Linked DNA regions of Homo sapiens: region 1 is linked to region 2. Evidence: promoter capture Hi-C in human tissues and cell types (Jung and others, 2019). All regions are on one chromosome and are shown on one strand. Each heading gives the region's core, a stretch centred on a gene start or on the middle of the fragment in contact. The rest is flanking DNA. Distances are from core to core; before and after follow the strand shown.

The links. Contacts are between HindIII fragments. The study calls those that stand out against the background at their distance.
Region 1: a fragment that was not itself captured here is called in contact with the fragment with the promoter of DLK1 in region 2 in 1 of the 25 tissues and cell types used here (H1 embryonic stem cells).

The regions. Positions count from the first base shown.
Region 1 is chr14:100,895,975-100,903,372 of GRCh38, forward strand. It overlaps RTL1 (retrotransposon Gag like 1), which reads right to left. Exons shown (of 4, transcript NM_001134888.3): 2 at 7,317-7,398. It overlaps MEG8 (maternally expressed 8, small nucleolar RNA host gene), which reads left to right. Exons shown (of 51, transcript NR_146000.1): 4 at 1,619-1,758; 5 at 2,983-3,111. It overlaps SNORD112 (small nucleolar RNA, C/D box 112), which reads left to right and starts at 1,946; the gene lies at 1,946-2,022. The HindIII fragment of the contact is 4,695 bases long and covers 1,379-6,073 here.
Region 2 is chr14:100,724,430-100,731,904 of GRCh38, forward strand. It overlaps DLK1 (delta like non-canonical Notch ligand 1), which reads left to right and starts at 2,463. Exons shown (of 5, transcript NM_003836.7): 1 at 2,463-2,706; 2 at 3,967-4,030; 3 at 4,507-4,637. The coding sequence starts at 2,640. The HindIII fragment of the contact is 15,317 bases long and covers 1-7,475 here.

The DNA of each region.
Region 1 (7,398 bases), core at 2,476-4,975, 170 kb after region 2:
AGGCATGAGAATTGCTCGAACCTGGAAGGCAGAAGTTGCAGTTAGCCGAGATTGCACCATTGCACTCCAGCCTGGGTGACAGCAAGACTCCGTCTCAAAAAAAAAAAAAAGAAAGAAAAATTGCAAAACTATAGCAATCACCTCAAGGTTTTCACAGGAATCAAACTCAGTCCAAACTAAAATGCTGTGTAATAAATAGTGGGGCTTCACGTGCAGGAAAGGCGATTAAGAGCGAGGCATGCAGGCCGAGGGCTGCTTAACCTGTCTCAGATTTCTTCCGCACAAAGTCATGGTTGAAAATAGGTCTCTGCCTGGCAGAGGGTAAAGAAGTTCTCGAAGGCCTCTGTCTGCATTAGCTTGGTGAGAGGGAAGACATTTAACCAATTAACCAATTAGTGATCTGTGCGGATGGAGACTGAGCAGGACGAGGGTGCCACCCGACTGGGTGTAAAGTGGGCTTAGTTTTGTCTTCTTGGTGTCTGGGAGCCTCAGTGCCTTTCTACGTAGATGGGAGTATGCTTGTCACATCCTTGTCACACAAGTAACCCTGTGCCTGTTTGAGGATTCCAAGAGCCTGTGACGGCTGCAGGGGGCCCTGAAGCTTAGTGTGCAAGCAGGAGCTGGGGACAGAGGGGCTTCTGACGGGAGTCGGGGTGCCTCCTCTGGATGTGGGGGTGGGCTAGGGTGGGCAAAGGTTGCTTCCCGTTCTCCTGCAGCTGACAGTTAGAAATGCCAGTGCCGTTTAGCCACAGTCCCTCTGGGTTAGAGTCGGGAAGAAACATGGCAGTTGTGTGTTTTGCACAGGAATCAAGCTGTCAGGGGGCACAGTGAGGCCCCAGCTCCTTACCAGCAAGCCGTCTAGGCTGCGAACGCGAGCCGCCGGGCCGCAGCTCTCTAGAGGTCCCTGTCCCCACCGCCTGGCCCCATCTCATGTCACATTCCCCCAAGGTCTCATTCCACTCGGCTAATCTCCAAGAACACCGGCCAGGGCATTGGCTTTCGGGTCCTTTTAAAGACCAAAAAGTAAAGCACTCCCCCGTGGGTGCTGGACAGCTTGGGAGGGATTTGGGGCTGTGGGTGGTGAAATCACAGCCCTGGGCACACACCTGCCAGCCCGATGTCACTGACAGGCTGCTCGGAGGCTTGGGGCTCCAGTGAGAGCATATAGATATTTTTTAAAAAACATATTCGCGATAAAATAAATCCCCTGTGTCTGCAGAACTTGCTCTGGGCATGTACCCACTCCCAATCCATCAGGAAACATGCCCTTTGCTTTGTATTTGTAAAAACAGAAACAAAAACAAAAACAACCCACAGGCGAACAAGCAAATTAAATCCCCCCCACACAAAATGTTTATTCTAATTATGCAAGAAATGGATTGATAATTAATACACGCATTAGTAAAAATCAAACACTGCAGATAAAGCCATCTTTAATGCTTCCCTCGATCCCTCCCCATCACCCCCCAGCAAATTAACTGCTCTTCTCAGTTTCAGGCGTCTGGTTCCAGATATTTTTTTCTGTGCATTTGCATATGTAGATAAATATACCTCTAAAATCTATGACTTTGTTTATTTTTTACATAAACTATATCATAGTGTACATTTCCTCTCGCAGCAGCTTGTGTTTCTTCCTTCAAGAGTCTGCTTAGAGATAATAAAGATCAACACTATTCCTTATAACAACACCTCAGTATCCTGCGAGCTGTACACACCAGAGTTTATTTAACCACCTTGCTGCTGGCATGAAAGCCTCAGGTCCTTTACCCTGGTTGGCGGGGGGGGGGGTGGGGGGGTGGGGGGCGGGGGGGGGCAGTGAATTGGTGGCGGCAGGTGTAAGTAATTGCTGAGATTTGGGTTTGGGGAGTGGGCTCACGAGTGTTTATGACATTATTATAAATGAATATATGAGTGCATAAATTAGCAAAATAAAAGGGGGCTTTTCTGGACCAATGATGAGACAGTGTTTATGAACAAAAGATCATGATTAATCCAGTTCTGCACAAAACACTGAGGTCCATTAGAAGACAATAGGTCTTGGCTGTTTCATTCCTTTTAAGAGCTGTTTAATATTCCACGGTATGTATGCACCATTGTTGATTACACTCTTCTACTGTTGAAAATCCCAGCTGAAAGTGCTCTGGGGGAGGAGAAGCTTTGGTCACAGTCCTAGCCGTCAGGGTGGGTCACAGATTCATAGGTGTTCATTAAATTATTTTTTAAAAAAGAATACATAAAAATGGTGCTTAATGCAGATCAGTGAGGAAGCGTGTCACAAATCGAGGTTTTAATTAATACGATTCTGCTCAACTAATGCCCGATAAAAAAGATCTAAGCTGTTTCCATTTTTTGTTGCTGTTACCAACGACACTGCAGTGAGCATTCTTGCAGCTAAATCTGTAAACACATCCTCGACTGTTCCTTTACCCCAGCTTCTTAGAGATGGGGTGGTGGGTTAAATTGTTTGCAAAAGTTTATTTTCATTGAGTGATCTTTCTAAAATGGCATTTTGACCTTGTTACTGTCTTGCTTTAAAGCCTCCATCTGACTTCCTGGAGCTTCCGGGACGGGGTCCAAAAAATAAGGCCTTATCCTGGCATGGAAGACCCTTTAGGGTCTGTCTTGGAACTTGCCAGCCTCAGCCCCTCCCCACTGGTGTTTACCTGCTAGGCGCACCTCACCCCCACGGGGCTACCTGTTTCTCTCAGCGGGCTCCCTACTTCTTAGGCTTTGCGCGGCCGTGCCTTTTCAGCCAGTTTCTCCCCGGCCTTAAAGAGCAGGCTTGAAATATCCCTGTTGGGGAGCCCAAAGTTAGATGGGCCCCACGAAACACTGTGTTCAGAAGCCCACCGAAGCCCTGACCCTGGAAGTGGGATGCCTCATTGACATTTTTTTCCCAATTAAAGGGAATGTTTTGCATTTTTCTAGAATTGATGAAACTGGTCAACTGTTACTCACCCTCCTTCCTTTGTCCCTTTCTAGGAGCCCTGGGCTCCCCCAGTGTTGCCTGGGTCTGACTTTGCCTCAGTGAAAACTGCCTCGAATTCTTTCTTGCACCGATGGGCAGATGGGCAGTGTCGGAGGATCGTGTCATCTGTCCCGTGGCGCTGGGTAAGTCTGCAGTGTTGTAAAGCTGCAAACACCCTTCTGGGTGGGGCTCAGGCTGGCACCCCCCCACTGCCCCAGCCTGCGCTATACCACGTTCCCCTGATGCTTGCCTTGTGCCGGGCCCCAGAACCCAGAGTCATGGGGTCCACAGCGCGGGAGTAGCGTCTCAGTGTTGTGAGTTCTGGGGATGAGGTTCGGGGTATGATTACAGCTTGGAAATGGCTGATTGCCATTATGGCTCCTCCTTGCCAGAGGTAAACGGGTCTGGTCCCAGAACAGGAGGAGGACATGTGATGACTGGAGTAACGATGAGGGGCTCTGGGGAAGGACAGGGCTGAGAGCAAGTGCTGGGACCTTTGGGACCGAGTCATATTCTAAAAAGAGCACAGGCTTTGGGGGAGAGGAGCTGTGAGGCCAAGGCAGCATCCCCCTGGGGAGCTTGTCAGGAGTAACAGGAGCCACTGGCAGTGTTTGGGCTTTTGGTCCCTTTTTTTCTCTCCCAGGGGAAGGGAGAAGGAGGCATTGCAGGAAGCCAGCCACCCTGAGCACAGACCCAGCTACAGAACAGACTTGAGCTGCGTGTCCTTGGCAAATCCCCAAGTGTTTCTGTGCCTTGGTTTCCTGATATTAAAAAAAAAAAAAAGGACTCATAATCTCTCTCACACAGGGCTATTGAGATCTCAATGAGGAAATAACGCAAATAAATCATCCAGCACAGTAGCCAACACGCAGTACCCAGCAAAACTCGGTAGCTCTCCCCATCTTACCCCGTCATGAAATGCTTAACCCCCTCCCTGAGACGGGCAGCTGCTCCCTTTCAGGGCAGGGAGACCCAACAGAGGACAACACAAATGCCAGAGAGAGTGTGAGGGGCAATAAAAGCTGATGCTCGCCTCCCTCCCAGACATCTTCCCAGGGAAAAGTGTGCTTTCTTGAACACCTGGGGGCCGGGGAAGGGGCTGCCCTACCACTTTGAATCGGGTTTCCCGAAAAGTTTGGTGAGAGTTTATTTTTATGTAAATAACATATAAAAAGTCAGACTTCTCCACAGGCAGATTTTTTGAGGCTCATATTTTACAGACTTTGGCAAGGGTCACTCGGAAGGAACAGTGGTTACAGTCTCCAGAGGTTCATAATTCCTGGAAAAACTTCTGGCCAAACCTGACTTCTCCTAAATTTCACAGAAAATTCTCCCTGGGCTGGGCTCAGGCTAAATGAGCTTTTTGTGTGTTAGTACAGCCTTACCTAGTGGAAGCATGACTTGCACGTTGCCCTTTACACAAAAGGGAACCTCCTCGGCCGCTGTGAACAAAGGCTCCGCTCTCCGAAATGTTTGATTTGTTTACTCGGGAGCGTGAGCCTGGTCAGGCACATGTCTGATACTGGGGCTATTTCTCTGCGGCCATATGTAGAGCTGTCCAGGTCTCTGCAATTTAACCCTGCGCTTCATGCCAGAATCCCATTTCCTAACTTCCTCAAGCAACGGGGCAAGGGAACCACAGCAAAAAGGAGTGTAGGGGGAGTGTTCCCTCCGTGTCCGGCAGGGGCTAAAGGGCTTGCTGCCCTGTGGCGTCTGCCTCTAAATAGGGATTTGGGTCGGTGACTTTTCACATCTACACCAAAGCCCTTCAGAACCCTTTCTGCACCACCAGCTATCCTGAACCAGAAATCCCTGTTCACAGAATTTCCCATGTGGGTGCCTCTTGTTCTGCACCCTGCATCGCGCCCCCTCCCCCGTTTATGTAAATGACACATGTAAATGTCACTCTCCCAAACATTTTCACACCTGCAGCTTCAAATCAACCTTTTAATAGGTTAAAACAACAGCACCAACAAAAACCAACAAAAACAGAGGCTCCCGAGAAACAAACAGTTTTTCCCGAAGGGCTTGCAGTGCCTAACTGAGCTGCCAGGGCCGTCTGTCTGTCTGTTAGCCAGGAAGGCAAACCAGCCTGCGCACTCCACCTGCAACACGATGCTGCCCCCCCACGGCGGGTCGGAGCAGCTGTGGCGACCCCAGGGCTGACAGATTGGGTTGTCAGGAGCAGGACAATGAGGCTGCAGTGAGGATGGGCTCCATCCTTGAATGACTCTGCCCTCCTTGAAATTTTTCTGCTCCATGGAGGTGCATCTCTGCCCCCGAGGACCTTGGGCATTTCACAGACAAGGAGCCCTGGCTGGCCTCGCAGCCATCCCCCATATGCACACACGCACACGCACAGACATGCGCGCACACACACATGCTGAGTGCCTGCACTGGGAGCATAAGGCAGAAAACTCCTTTGGAAACTGCAGAACAGAGCCTTGTCTAGCAGAGGTCCCCTGATAAAGGTCCCACAGTTCCTGGGAACTGAACCCCTGTGAATGGGCCAGGAGAGGCAGCTCCCGACTCCCGTGTGGGCTGCATTCATCAGCAGGCCGGCACCCCAGCCCTGTCACTGTGTGAGGAGCTTTCATGAGTCCACTGAACATGTAAGTCACAGTCTGGCAGCTGGCTGCATCTGTGGTTGCTGCTCAGCCTCCAGAAAAGGGCCCCTCAACCTGCCAGACCTCCTCGCTCCTTCCACTCACTCTGCCAGCCTGTTGCCCCAGAGAGGACACAGGCCAGCCTCTGTGGGCTCAGGAGCCAGGGCAGGTGCTTGGCCACTCTAGGTGTTCTGGCCCTCAAGAGGGGAGTTGGCAGCAGGACAGTCCCCACCTCCCCCCACCAGCCCTGGGCACTCAACCCCATTCTCTGCTCCTCTCCCTCATTGCCTTATTGGGACAGAGGCACCCCGCCAACCATCTCTGTGCCTTTGCCATTTAGCCCAGGGCAAGCTACTCGGGAGAGGCCAAATGGCCTCATACTGACCCCTGCCTGGTCCCCTCTGGCCACCTCGCTCACTTGCCCGCTTGCCTGCTCAGGAGTTGGTGCTGTGGGAGCTTCTCAAAGGCCTAAACATGTGGGCTGCCAGCCTGGGCAGGAAACCGTGCTGCAGCCTTCTCAGCCAAGCACTGGCCTGCCTCTCTCCCCTCGGATGCCTCCTGTAACAGGGAGCTCCCTCTCTCCCCAGGCAGCCTGCTCAGGGCTCGCACGCAGAGCTGCTTTGCTGAGCCCTCCCCTGCCTTTTGCATCTGCCTCCTCGGCTGTGCAGCAGCCCCCTTGCCCCCTCTGCCCTCCGATCTCTGCAGGCTGTGGGCTCCCTCTCTTTTCAGTCCTCTCCTTTCTGTGCTGAATGGCAATACCCCCACCAATGGTGGGAACAGGATTGGGCGCCTCTACACCTGTCCTAACACCTCTGTCTCTGTTCTTTTAGACCTGGGACAGAGCCCTTTGCCCTGCTGTTCTGCTAAAAGCCCAGGGGAGGGCGTGGTGCTCCCCTCCTGGGGCCAGCTGCTCCATGTCTATCTGTTGAGCGGCTTCTCAGCCCTCTTGGGTTTTCTATGGCCCCTTTTCCAGTTGCTAGGGAGAACGCTCTGTATGCAGCCCCCTGCCTTTTCTGCAGGAGCTGCTGGCCTCCCGGCCAGCCCTGGTCAGCCCTGCAGTAGCAGCAGCAGCAGCAGCAGCAGCAGTAGGCAGCCACAGCAGGGCTGGGGGCTCCCGAGCCAGGCAGACCGGCTTGACTCCCTGCTCTCTAGCTGCAAGACAATTCCCTTTACTTTTCAGACTCGGCTTTTCCCCTGTGAAATGGAGATGAGAGTTTCTCCGTCACTGGCGTGAAGTGAGGACTAAATGAGATAAGTGTAGGCTTGCACACATCAGACACTTCATAAATGCTTGTGGAGTAGACGGTGGGACCCAGGGAGGGAGAGAGAGGTATGTAACAAGTGTCGCAAGAGAGAAAACAGCCTGGCCTTTCAAGACCCTGCTCCCAATACAAACGGGAACCTCTCCTGGCAGAGTCCCCTCTGCTGGCTTAATCGCACAAATCAAGTCAGCCGGAGGCAGCCCCCGGCCTGTGGAACTCACAGTAGATGCAGCAGGCAGCATAAATGACATGCAGAGCCCACATCTGCATTTAATAGACCGAGAATTTGCATTGTATATAACAGCACGAGGGGTAAAGCATGAAGGCATAAAGGAACAGTTTTTCCCGGCGGCTTCCTTGAAGGGCCAGCTTAGACAGGGGTCTGGGGAGGAGAAACTCAGCGGGGTCCGGGCATCCCATAGACTATGGGACAGACATCCATCCATGCACTCATTCTCCAAGCCACCACAGTGTACCTACCTTCCCCGGGCCCAGTCCCAAGCGTGAGGCTGGGGATGAAGTGATGCCGGTGGCTTAGTGATGCCGGTGGCTTCCTGTCCTC
Region 2 (7,475 bases), core at 1,213-3,712:
ATAGGATTAGAGAGCAGGTGCCCCCCAAGCCAAGGCAGTGCCCTTTCAGCGTAAGCCTGTGACATTTTGACAGACTCCCTTGGGCGAGAATACCCTCCTCTGGCCTCCCTCCCTTTCCTAAACTGGGGAGGGCTGTGGTGGGGCTGGGGGCGGGGGTGGGAAGGGGGAAGAACCTGGATGGGGAAGGGAGGAGTCTAGGTATGTGTGTGGGTGGGGACACTGGGGCCCCCTAAGTGCTCCATGCAGTCCAGGGAGTCTCCTCTCTGCGGGACTTTGGCAAGAGCCTGGGAGGCCCTTGCCCCAGGGCTACCCAGCCCTGAGATCCTCCACCCCTCCTTGGCTTCTGGCTGAGAACTCAGCTCTTCCAGGTCTGCCTGCTGTTGGGATAATTTTGGAGGCTGAAGTCAGGGGCCTCGAAGGGAGGGAAGAGAGGAACCCTGGTCAGGAAGACCTTGGCGATCACCATGCAGTGGACATTGGCACCCAGGGTTGGGCCTGTCAGCCAGACACTCTCGTTCTAGGCCAAGGGCCTTGGGCAAAGGACCTTCCATCACTGAAGTTGGTTTCTTGACTTGAGGAAAGAGTCCACGGAAGAAAGTAGGGTCACAGGAATGCAAGGGCATGTGGCAGGCACACAGTGGGCACCCCAACTGCTCCCTACAGCCTGTCCCCAAAGCCGTTCCCAGCAGCCCCTACCTATCTGGGCATTCTGCAGATAACATCAGGGAAGGGATATCTTCCACCAGGGGCTGGGAGTTTCCCTCCAGCCTCCTTGGAGCCAGCCCAGAGCAGCTCTGGTCTCTGTCCATCCCTGTACCCATCCCGAGTGCCTTACTGGAGCACTGACTTAGGGGTGGTGGGCCTGGGGATGCCCATGGGCCTGCCTTCCCACATCTATGGCTAAGATGGGAAATCTGTGCTCAGACCTGCCAGGGCTGGACTAGAGGGCCAGGAGGTCAAAGCATCCAGCCTCCAGGTTCACAGTGGTGAGATCACACCCCCCTGCAGCACTGTGAAGAAGGGGAGGCCGCGAGCTGGGTGGGCACCCACTCCCTGCATCTAGGATATGTATGCAAATTAATATATGCAAATTAAGTATCCTAAACGACCCACCCAAAGATTGGGACGCCTGGGACCCTTCCCCCAGGAGGTGAAATATCTTTAATCCCCTCCTACCCCTCTCCCTCCCTATCTTTCTGAGCCTCCCCCATCCAGACTGGGTGCAGGGGTGCAGAGCTTTCCTCTCCAGCAGGGCTCTAAGCCTAAGCCGGGGGCAATGGGGAGGAGGGGTGTCTGAGGAGCACTCCCTCTCCCTGGGAGCTCTGCAGAGGAAGAGGGTCTCTGGCAATCAGCATCCTCTACCTCCACCTCTCCAGCGGGCGACCCCTCAGAGAAGGTCTCCCAGTGAGTCTGGAATACGTGCCGAGTGCCTGGAGTGCTATTGTGTGTATGTGAGAGCACATTGGTGAGGCTGCCCATGCATGCCACTGTGGACAAAGACAGATGCGATCGTGTGTGTGTGGGGACTGCGTATATGTTTTTGTCAGTGTGTGTGACCACGAGTCAGCTGGGTATGTGTGCTTGTGGGTATCAGGTGCATGGCTGTGCGTACATGTGTGCGTAAGAGTCGGTGCATTTGTGTTTCAGCGCGGCTAAGGCCCTGACTGAGATGCTGTGTGTGCGGGGGTGGGTGTGACTGAATGCGGGCACGGGTGTCCGTCTGTTTATACGTGTGTTTGCGTGTTTGGGTGTGCAGGTGGCTCTGCGTAAGCGTCTGTGTGCAGGGGGTCGGCACATGGGGGAGGATGCCCATGGTTGGGTAACCGCAGGTCCGCTTGACCCTCTGCCACCTAGGACTGTGTCTATACGGCGTCTGGGCTACAGTGTGTTTGAGTTGCCGTGTGCGTTTCCGTTGCGGGGTGTGGGTTGCCACGGGGCAACTGCATTTTTCTGCGTCTTCATGGCCAGGGGTACAGGGGGCGTCGGGCTTTTCCTGGGGGTTTTTCTGTGTGCGTGTGTAATTATGTGCTTAGTTCACATCTTCATAGTGCGCCTTTGTGTTTTCCTGGGTATCTAACCATTGCACGTGTGCCCGGGACTTCAGCGATAAGTGTTTCGGTGTTCCTGCGTGCGGATTTGTGCTCTCCGGGGAGGTCTGCGGCCCAGGTTCGATTCCTGCGACTTGTCCTAGGCAGGCCTGTATGTGCGCGGCGGCCGCGTGCTGTACAGTGTGAGGGAACGTGTACCAAACGCTCGCGGGATACCTGTGCCCGTCTAGCCAAGAGTGCACCCGTGTGCGCGAGCGGGCTTCTGGGACGCCGCCGTGGTCGGGGGCGGCCCTGCGAGGGGAGGGGGTCACAGGGACTGGCCGGCGCCGGCCCCGTGCGCACGGAGGCGGGGGCGGGGGGCGGGGGCCGCGAGGGGGGAGGCGGTACGAAAAGGGCGGCGCGCGCGGCGGCGGCGGCAGCTCCCCGGCAGCGGCGGTGGAGAGCGCAGCGCGCAGCCCGGTGCAGCCCTGGCTTTCCCCTCGCTGCGCGCCCGCGCCCCCTTTCGCGTCCGCAACCAGAAGCCCAGTGCGGCGCCAGGAGCCGGACCCGCGCCCGCACCGCTCCCGGGACCGCGACCCCGGCCGCCCAGAGATGACCGCGACCGAAGCCCTCCTGCGCGTCCTCTTGCTCCTGCTGGCTTTCGGCCACAGCACCTATGGTGAGTTCCCCGGCGGCCCGGCTCGCGCCCCCTCTGGGGAAGCCTGCGACTCCCCGCCGGCCGCCCGGTGCCCCGCACGCCCCGTCTCGTGAGCCCCAACTCCGCCCGTCCCGCCTAGCCCTAAGCCCCGCGCTGTGCCTGTCTCGCCCTACCCACCACGCTCGCATGCCAAGGCCCGTCCCAGGGGTCCCAGGGCGCAGGGGATGTGTGAGACCCCCAGCCCCTTCCCGCCCTGCAGAAGTGGCGCCAGAGGGGTGTCGGTGCGCTGAGCAAGGAGGTATGGAAAAATGGGGTGCTGTTGTGGAGTCTTCTATGAAAATACTCTGGGGTGCAACTTTGGGGTGTCCCTGTGTGAGCGTTCTGGAACAGGTCTCGGGGCGGGAGTGGGGGACGACTTTGCCGTCTTAGCCCCCAATTCCCAGAGAAGCCCAGCCTGAGCCCTTCCTGCGTGGCGCGTTTCTGTAGGTGAGGGGCTGCGACACTTCTGTCTGCAGCGGCCATCTGTCTCTGACAGCGAGAGAGTTGCCCCCTTCCTGCAGCGCCCCCCCACTCATTGCACCAGTGGTTGTAAGGGGGCTGTCTAGAAAGCTGGGGAGCTGGTTGAGTAAATGCACACAGTAGGTGCCTGTTAAAGTGTCAGAATCTCTAAGCAGTGTTGTTGCAACCTCAGCCCGCTAAGCAAAACCCTGTGTCGTCATCGTTTTTTTAATGCGAAGAGTCTGGGGTAGGGGAAAGAGGGAAGATTTGACCTGGGTGCCCGGCTTAATAGGGATGAACCTTAAAAAGAATGCAGACGCCTTACTGGGGCGCCCACCAGGTGAACCTGTCTGGGCTTTCCCGGAGTTGAACACCTCAAAATCTGCTCCTCTTTTCAGCTCAGGTTGCAAAAGTGACGGTCAGGCTGCATGCCCAGGGCTCAACATATTTCCCTCCACGGTCCCCGTCCCCGCTGTTAGGAGGACTTGAGGTGTCGTATTTGCTTTTGGGAGTCCGAGGAGAAGGTGTTTCTCCTGCTCCTAAGAACGAGGGAGAGTGTACTGTGGTCATTTCATTGCTGGGAACGTGGCAGAGATGTTTTTCCTGAGTGCACTGAGCCCCATCCATGCTCGGATAGGAAGTGCCTACTGTGTGCCAGGCTGGTAGGACCCAAGAGGGCTGTTGGTGCCCTCGAGGGCAGTGGTGGGCTGTGTGGGCGAAGACAGCCTTTGCCTTGGCCTGGGGCCTGGTGGGGTGAATTGTATAACCTTTCTTGTACCTCAGGGGCTGAATGCTTCCCGGCCTGCAACCCCCAAAATGGATTCTGCGAGGATGACAATGTTTGCAGGTAATAGAGTGGCTCCTCAGAGGCAGCTTGTAGGGGCCACGCAGAAGCCTGGGGAGTCGTGAAGTCAGGCAGAAAAAAATAGGGGGCTTGGCCACTACGCTGCAGCAAACAGCTTCCGGGCCCCTGCAGAAAACTGGTGGGGCGAGCTGGGGAGATGGGGGGGGCGGGGGGGGGGCAGCCACAGCTCCTGTCTGCGTTCTCAGAGGTGGGGGGGCAGGTGGGACCACTGCAGGCCACTGCGGCAAAACGCAGCACTCCCCCGGGATCTCGGGGCCCCTCCAAGTCGGCCCCCTCAGCTTGGCATGTTTTCTCTTTAAGTTTTCCCATTCAGGTGGCTGGTGTTTACTTCCCAGGACCACCGGCTGCCACTGTGCAAAGACCCCCAAGGGTCCTTGGTTCCACAGAAAGTAGCCTGAGCTGCCTCTCTACCCCTGCCCTCTTCATATGTCCCCACCTTTCTCCCCCACCCATTGCAGGTGCCAGCCTGGCTGGCAGGGTCCCCTTTGTGACCAGTGCGTGACCTCTCCCGGCTGCCTTCACGGACTCTGTGGAGAACCCGGGCAGTGCATTTGCACCGACGGCTGGGACGGGGAGCTCTGTGATAGAGGTTGGCACTCGCCTTTGTTCACCTCAGCTCTGCGTCCTTACCTGCCTGCCCTAGCCCCTACCACCTCCTCCCAGTCTCCTGTTGCTGGTGTTCCTCACTTCCTCATTCCTGCACACTCCGTGCCCTGTATTCTAAAGATCTGTTTATAAATTTCCTGTGGGTACCGAATGCCTCCTCAGAGGTAGGGACTTTATTTTGCTCTTCTCTGCGCCATCAGCACCCAGCACCTAGAGGGAACATGGCGTGGGGGCCAGGGAGCTGCCTGTTGAATAAAGAGTCACAAAATACACATACAGCTGGGCCGGTGGGACCACAGACCCCAGGCTGCCTGTCCAGGTCATGGAAGCCCAGTGATGGACAGGGCTCTGGGGATCTCAGAGCTAAGACTCCCTAGAAAAGCACACGCAAGACTGTAAAGAGGCTGCAAACAAACAAACGGGGTGGGGGGTGGCCAGCACTGCTCAGTGGTTGAGGGGCAGGTGCTGAGTCAGGGCCAGGAGGACAGGGCTGGGGGGCCTGGACTGAGTGGGTCAGGTGTAGGGGGAGGCTGCAGTTGGGAAAAGCTGAGAAAGGGTTAAAGTGAAGATGGGTGTTATCTGTTGATTTCATTAATTTATGCAATCTTTGCCTCCATTACCCCAAGCAATTGAGAGTTGGCTGTCACTGCATTTTCAGGCTGCGAAATGTTCGTCTAAGCCCATTTTCATTTGGCAAAACCAGCCCTAACGTTTGAGCAAACTGAAGTCCACAAAAAAACTCCCAGCTGTGTAGCAGCCTGCCCTCAGGGCCCCTGTCCCTCAGTCCCCAACATTAGTAAAGACGGTACAGATAGGGAAACTGAGGATCAGAGAAGCACAAGTGTCTGCTAAGGAATATGAAAGAAGTTGGGCAAAAAGCCAGCTACAACCCTTTCCCCCAGCCCCAGAAAGAGAGTTAATTTTTATCTTCGATTGCATCTAACATCCTTCCTTAAGGAACACCTAAGAGCATTTTGTTGTGGCCCCTGCCCTGTACAGCCAGGGCAGCCGTGGTTCTGAAGCTGAGCTCCCTCCCACCCCAAATTGTCTCTGGTCCTTAATTCCAGCCCCTGCAATATGGTGCAAGGTTTACCCGCAGCTGACTCATGCTCTGGCCAGCATCTCTGCTGCCCCTCACAGAAGCAGCGGCAGCAGCTCTGAGTCGTTTGAGGATCTGGGGGATTCCAGCAAAGCCACCATTTGGGATCAGGGTTAGGCTTTTAGCTTGGAGCCCATCTTTTTGGTATCTAAATGCCGTACACCCTTGCTGAAATTTTCCGGACAAATGCCTCCCTTCTCATGGGCCCTTGGTATGTCCCCTCCCCACCAAGTTGACAAAGGCAGCCAGCTTGGGGATGGCCAGAGAGTCTGGGGTCCCAGAGAAGACATAGCCCTCCCTCTCCCTTTTTGCCCATCTTTGAGGCTGTCGTGGCCACAGCTGCTGTCCCAGCAGAGACCCCCAAGCAGCCTTTTCCTCAGAGCAGCTTAATTCACCCCTGTCTTGGGGTTGGAGGCTCAGGAGGGCTGATCCAGGATTGGCATAGCAGGGAGAGCTGCAGGGACAAGCTGGGGGTGGTCGCCAGCTTTTTAGCTTAAATTTAAGATTCTGAGTGACAGGAGAGTCGGGTGCAGAGAATAAGGAGCCTGACGCGGAGGCGCCACGTGCTAATGCCTTGCCGGTGCCGTCCCGTAAAGATAAATCCTCTTTATGTGTCCTTGCACCAAGCCGGGCTTCCATGGAACACCACGGGGTAGTCCATCAACACAACGTTCAGGCTCTTCCTCCTTGATTGATTGCAGTCTCCCCTCCACGAGGGTGTGGGTCTCTCTGAGAGGGGGAAAAAATACGCACATGTGTGGCCTCAGCACGGGGGATTTCCCCTCCCCCCACCCCCTCCAGCCTGCCTTAGCTTGCTGTGTCTCTCACTGGCCCTGGCTTTCTGTTTGGCAGGTACAGCAGCTCAAATTATAGAAAATCAAAGCTGAAGAGTCCCTCAGAGATTGGCCAGGGAAAGACCCTCTTTTTATAAGTAGGGAAACTGAGGCCCAGAATGGGTAGGAGCTGAACTCTGCTGCCACATGGCAGCAGGCCGGATACAGGGCAGGACAGGGGTCCCTTCCTGGCCCCACTGGGGAGCTGGGGTCTCCATCATCAGAGAGCCCCTGACTCAGGCCCTTGTGTTCAGCTCATCCCTGGCTTGCTGAACCTGAATAATGAAGTGTGCGTGATGGAAGGTGTTAAAAGATGGTGGGAATATACCAGTGCTCATGGAAACCTGTGCTGATAGGAGAGCGCTCAATAGTTCTAATTTCCCTGGCTTTAAAAGATGAAGCCTTTTTACCAGGGACCCCTTGAGTTCAGAGCCTGAGTGCAGAAAGAGAGACCACAGGGACACGTGGTAGTGCTGGGGTTAACAGGTTTCTTGATTCCTGACGGAGGGGGGTCGTTACATCTCCATCCCCCCCACTGCCCCTCTTTGATGGAAAAGTATGAAGAGCTGGTGGTTTTTCTGAGGGTTGGGCTGTATTCATCCCCCGGCTGGCCAGGACCCCTCCCCTAACAGGAGAGGGTGGAGATGCAGTCTTGTCTGGTGGAGACAGGCCTTAGGGAATCTCAGCTAGGCACGCTGTTGCAGGGAGGGGCATGATGTCCACAGTGAACGTCACGGACATGTCGCTGGATATGGGGTGACCTGGTGCCAGGCAAAGGGAACAGCTATCCTGGCCTGAATATCAGTGGCCACGACTTTCTGATCTGTGACCTTAGGCAAGGAAACCCCTTCAGCTTCCTGAGCCTCAGCTTACTCACTTCATGGGTTTT